2 separate regions of the Homo sapiens genome follow, and region 1 is linked to region 2. Evidence: promoter capture Hi-C in human tissues and cell types (Jung and others, 2019). All regions are on one chromosome and are shown on one strand. Each heading gives the region's core, a stretch centred on a gene start or on the middle of the fragment in contact. The rest is flanking DNA. Distances are from core to core; before and after follow the strand shown. Region 1 holds the start of LOC124903552 (a long non-coding RNA gene). Region 2 holds the start of PLIN1 (perilipin 1).

Region 1 (2,700 bases), core at 151-2,650, 160 kb after region 2:
TACTGCGAAGCAGCCCTCATCTTAAGGTGGCTCAACACCACACCTGAGATCTAGCCCATGCGACAGTATGGAAGCAGGAGGCCCTACTCCACCACAGAAAGAACATTTATGGGCGCCTAAGCCCTGGGAGAATGGCACCTGAGGGAACAGAGCGTGCCCACAAGCAGACCTTGGGGAGGGAGAAGAGGCAGCCCTGCTCCTAGTCGCAGCCAGCGTGCGTCATGTCCAGGCCCCACAAGGGTGACCCTGGCTCAGGTTCTCATGCTCCAGAAGCTGGCCCAGGTGGCAGTGGGTTCCCTATGGAGGCAGCTCATCATTCACAACACAGCAACAAACCTTCTGCTCTCATGAGGAGAATGTATTTTAAACTTGGGAAGAGTCATAATTCTGGGATGTTTCACATGTTGTCAGCTTTAACCTTCTACAGACACAGGCCCTCTCCTCTGTGAGGAGGGACCTCTGGCATGTGTGGGTGTGTGGTGGGTCCCTCTCCCTATTAGCAGAAATGTGTTGGGCATGAGCCAGGTTTATGATTTGGATTGTGTCCTGCACATAACACCTGTGAGAATACAACTGGGACTAGGACAATGCGGGAAGCATATTCTTCATGAGGCGGTAACCAAAAGGCTTGGCTATACCAAAGGATTCTGGTGGCCGGGCACGGTGGCTCACACCTGTAATGCCAGCACTTTGGGAGGCCAAGGCGGGTAGATCACTTGAGGTCCAGGAGTTCGAGCCCAGCCTGGCCAACATGGTGAAACCCTGTCTCTACTAAACATACAACAATTAGCTGGGCATGGTGGTGGGTGCCTGTAATCCCAGCTACTGGGGAGGCTGAGACAGGAGAAATGCTTGAACCCGGGAAGCAGAGGTTGCAGTGAGCCGAGATTGCACCACAGCACTCCAGCCTGGGTGACAGAGCAAGACTCCACCTCAAAAAAAAAAAACCACAAAAAAACACAAAAGGATTCTGGGTGTAACAATCTCAGTAGAGCCAGCGGGTGACTCTGGTTCTCCTAAAATTCTGCCCTTACTTGCCACTCACCACACCCCCAGATCTGAAGGGCCAGCCCTTTTCTACCTATGACACCTCACCAGCAAGTAAAGGGCACAGGACCTCAGAAGTCTGTGGTGCTAAGGATGAAGACTCTACTCAGAGAAGGTGCTCAGCCCTAGTGAGGAGGTTCTGGGAAGCAGGTGGGCCTGCTCAATGCAGTCCCTAACCCTTGGGAGCATCCATGTGAGAGGTAAAGGTGCAAATGACTTGGGCATGTTGACTCCCTACTGAGGAAGGCAGGGCCCCTCACATCTGCAGTGGCCGTATGCATCAGAGAACGGCATGACTGCACATGTGAGAACTGGGTGCACCCGAGCAGTGTCAATAGGAATCCCTTCCCTATTCCATGCCAAACAGTCTTCCCCAGACACAAAGTTTCCAGGTCCTGAGGCTTGACTCTTCTAAGGCTCAAAATGGGTTCTGTTTCCAGACGTGCTTGCCTTGCTTGTCTTTGCTTGTCTTAAGGACTCTATTTCAGGCCAATACTTGATCCTCAGACAAACTGGGACAGGTTGGGAACTTTGATGTTGAGATCGCCAATGTTGATGTTCCGAGGAATCTCTGGCAGGTTGATGTTTTTCACAGCAGACACAGCCCGCGCAGGGGCTGCTGAAAGGCCACCCTAAGAAGAAATGAGAGGCGAGTATGAGACAAATTCTCACTGTTATCTGCTTAATGCTAAAAAAAAAAAAAAAAAAAAAGCAAAAACAAAAACAAACAAGCAGGATGGGTGTGGTGGCTCACGCCTGTAATCCCAGCACTTTGGGAGGCCGAGGTGGGTGGATCACCTGAGGTCAGGAGTTCGAGATAGGCCTGGCCAACATGGTGAAACCCCATCTCTACCAAAAATACAAAAATTGGCCAGGAGTGGTGGCGGGCCCCTGTAGTCCCAGCTACTAGGGAGGCTGAGGCAGGAAAATCGCTTGAACTCAGAAGGCGGAGGTTGCGGTGAGCTGAGATCACGCCACTGCACTCCAACCTGGGCAACAGAGTGAGACTCTGTCTCAAACAAACAAACAAACAAAATAACAGGTGAAGGATGCCTAGAAAAATTCCAAACTGAGCACACACAACTGAAGTTTTAACTTTCCCCCCTTATTCCTCAAAAGTAGCCAACAAAACAATCTTGAGGTTAGATGGGGTTTGGCACAGGGATCCAAAGCCTGCAGTCCTACTAGACTACCAGCTCCTCAGAGGCGGAGTGTGGCCTATACAGTTTCACAGCCCCAGCCTCTCACAGTACCTGGCACATGGTGGGTACCCAATAAATGCTGAAATAATCTAAGGTGATTTGTCAGGGGCACTTTTCTGGTTACAAAACAAAACAAAACCCTTTCCTCAAGAGACCAAAGACTCTTATTGAAACGTGCAAAGTCACCGGGAAGTTCTTAAAAGGAAAAGGACAGTCACAGCTCTAGGGCAACTGCTTGCCAACTAATAATGTGAGATGAAAAGAGCTGGCTTTGGAAGTGTCATGTGGCAACAAGCTGGGAGAAGGTGGGGGGTATCACAGATAAAGAAGAGCTGGTGACAAAACGCAAAGAGTATGCACATCTACAGTGAACCCCCACCTGGCAGGCTCACCCCCACGTGGAGGGAACGGCAAAAGTGGATGAAAACTCTCTCACAATCATTTTTCCCCT
Region 2 (2,750 bases), core at 51-2,550:
ATTTTTAGTAGAGATGGGGTTTCATCATGTTGGCCAGGCTGGTCTCGAACTCCTGGCCTCAAGTGATCTGCCCACCTTGGCCTCCCAAAGTGCTGTGATTACAGGCAAGAGCCACCATGCCCGGCCAAGAATAATGTTTCCTATAAGAGTTCAGGTTAAGAGGCCAGGCGCGGTGGCTCAGGCCTGTAATCCCGGCACTTTGGGAGTCCAAGGCAGGCAGATCACCTGAGTTCAGGAGTTCAAGACCAGCCTGGGCAACATGGTGAAACTCCGTCTCTGCTAAAAATACAAAAATTAGCCAGACGTGGTGGTGGGCAGCTGTAATCCCAGCTACTTGGGAGGCTGAGGCAGGAGGATCGCTTGAGCCTGAGAGGTGGAGGTTGCAGTGAGCTGAGATCCTGCCACTGCACTCCAGCCTGGGTGACAGAGGGAGACTCTGTCTCAAAAAAAAAAAGGAGTTCAGGTTAGGAAATAAAAAATGCAGGTAGCCATAAGAGATAAAAAGTTTTAGATAAAATCTTAAGGCTCTTAAATGAGGGTCCAAAAGAGACTAAAACAAGAAGTTTCAAGCTGGGTGCACTGGCAAGCACCTGTAATCCCAGCTACTGAGGCTGACATGGGAGAATTGCTTGAGCCCAGGAGTTTGAGATCAGCCTCGGCAATACAGTGAGATGCCCATCTCTAAAAAAATAAATAAACAAGTTAAAGGTTTCATCTTTGAAAAGGCTCTGGGTTAATTCCTCTATTTCTCTCTTTCTCTCTGTCTGTCCCTCTCCCCCTCTCCCTATCTGTTTTTTGAGACAGGGTCTCAATCTGTTGCCCAGGATGGAATGTGGTGGCACGATCATGGCTCAATGCAGCCTTGACCTCCTGGGATCAAGGTACCCTCCCACCTCAGCCTCTCATGTAGCTGGGACTACAGGCATGCACCACAATGCAGGGCTAATTTTTTCTCTTTTTTTATAGAGACAGGATCCCACTGTGTTGCCCAGGTTGTTCTTGAACTCCTGGGCTCAAGTGATCCACCTGCCTTGGCCACCTGCAGTGCTGGGATTAAAGGCATGATCCACTGTGCCTATCCAATTCCTCTATTTCTAGATTCTGGTATCTATACCAGAATCTCTCCCTCAGTAGTTTCCCTGCAGAGTTTTTCATCCCCAGCAAAATCCCCAAGAGGCCCTTACCTTCAACTTCTTCCCTTTAATGTTCATAAACAAGCCATGTAAGGCAGGTGCCCCAGGACCCCAACACTCACTCCGGCTGACCGCCACCTCAGTCTCACAGAGCCCAGGCTGCAGAGTGTCTCCTCAGGCAGAAACAATTCCTGTCACTCCTGGGAGGCTTGGGCAATGCTGCTTCCACCTCCCAGCTAGAGGAGGGCAGAGAGGGAGAGACAACAGGGTCAGCCAGTTGTCATGGTTATATGACCCAGGGTTCCCCAGGCATATCCTAACTTCTCTAAGGACATTTAGCAAACAAGGAGGTAGGTGGCAGAGCTGAAGGAGATCCAGGCTCAGAGGACTTAGTATTCCAGAGCCATGAAGCATCAGTTCTGTAATGTTCCTGCCCTCAATTCACAAAAATCTGCTTTCCAGAAAGAAGGTATAGGGATAGACATCATTAAACTCAAAAGCTCTAAAGTTCTATATACCTCTGCAATCTTTTGGCTCCTTTTCCATAGAGGGTCTTGTGGGAGTTTTCAATCCATTTCTCTCATCTTTTCTTATTTACTAGCAAGACTGAATGCTGAACAGTAAAATTTAAACCCACACAGAAGAGTTCATCTGAATGTATTCATCTTTGATTATGGAGATAAATTGCCCTCAGTGAAGAAGCGACAGAGCCGGGAGTTGAGTTTTTGACAATATAGCCTTTGAGTTGAGGGAGGAATTCCCACTTCTTAGAATTCAAAAAAATTTATTGAACTTTACCTGGCCTAAGATGCTACCAGAATGAAGAGTAGGAGAGCCAAGTAGATTTTTATTCTCCTGGGTCTGGATAAGCGACAGTGTTGACTAGGATTCTATCACTAATCAAGAGCACCCAGACAGCCAAGAATTAGCACCACTCAACCCTTCTTTACCCAGGACTCAAGCACAAGCCCAAGTTCTAGTTCCTGGCTTTAGATATGATGGAGGACTATGGTATAAGCCATAGCTTTCAGATTAACTAAGAAGGGCCTCTTCATGAAAACAGACAATAGGAAAACAAAACTTATTTTCTTTGTTGCTGGTGGAATTATATGTATTGTTGACTCTGTTAAGTCACACAGTGTGGGCAAGAGAAGAAAGAGGCAGGGGTGGGGAATTATGAAAGATCCTTGGTAATAAATTACGTATCTGTGATGCAATAAAGTAGGGAATGAGAAGGCAGGAAAGGGAGGAGTCAAGCAGGGAGGCTTCAAAGGAGTAATACGCTATACGTTTAATACTTATTGATCCAACCTGTGCTTTTCAAATGTAAGGCAGTAGAGAAGACAAAGTATTTAAAGAAGTGGCCTCTGCCCTCACCTCAAGGTTCAGCACAAATTATCTGTGAGGCTGTGACTGGACAGCAACCTGAGCCAAAGGGCAGTTTTCAGCCTTCAGAGTAGTGGCTTTGGGCCAGAGGGAACATAGGGCTTTGTGCCTGAAAGCTCTGCCAAATCAAATAGTCCTTTGGCTGCTTTAGCTGGGAGTGCAGAATGTGGGTGAGAGGTGAGAAGTGGTGAAAGGGCCTAGGAGAGTCCCGAGGGAAGACAGAAGTGTTAG

What was found. The method cuts DNA at HindIII sites, captures the fragments that hold promoters and counts their contacts. A contact is called where the count stands out against the background at its distance.
Region 1: a contact is called between a fragment that was not itself captured here and the fragment with the promoter of PLIN1 in region 2, in 2 of the 25 tissues and cell types used here (bladder and liver).

The regions. Positions count from the first base shown.
Region 1 is chr15:89,833,965-89,836,664 of GRCh38, forward strand. ARPIN-AP3S2 (ARPIN-AP3S2 readthrough) reads right to left here. Exons shown (of 10, transcript NM_001199058.2): 10 at 1-1,679. The coding sequence ends at 1,551. It overlaps AP3S2 (adaptor related protein complex 3 subunit sigma 2), which reads right to left. Exons shown (of 6, transcript NM_005829.5): 6 at 1-1,679. The coding sequence ends at 1,551. LOC124903552 (a long non-coding RNA gene) reads left to right here and starts at 1,945. Exons shown (of 2, transcript XR_007064754.1): 1 at 1,945-2,700. The HindIII fragment of the contact is 6,289 bases long and covers 1-2,700 here.
Region 2 is chr15:89,678,067-89,680,816 of GRCh38, forward strand. It overlaps PLIN1 (perilipin 1), which reads right to left and starts at 1,301. Exons shown (of 9, transcript NM_002666.5): 1 at 1,185-1,301. The HindIII fragment of the contact is 12,360 bases long and covers 1-2,750 here.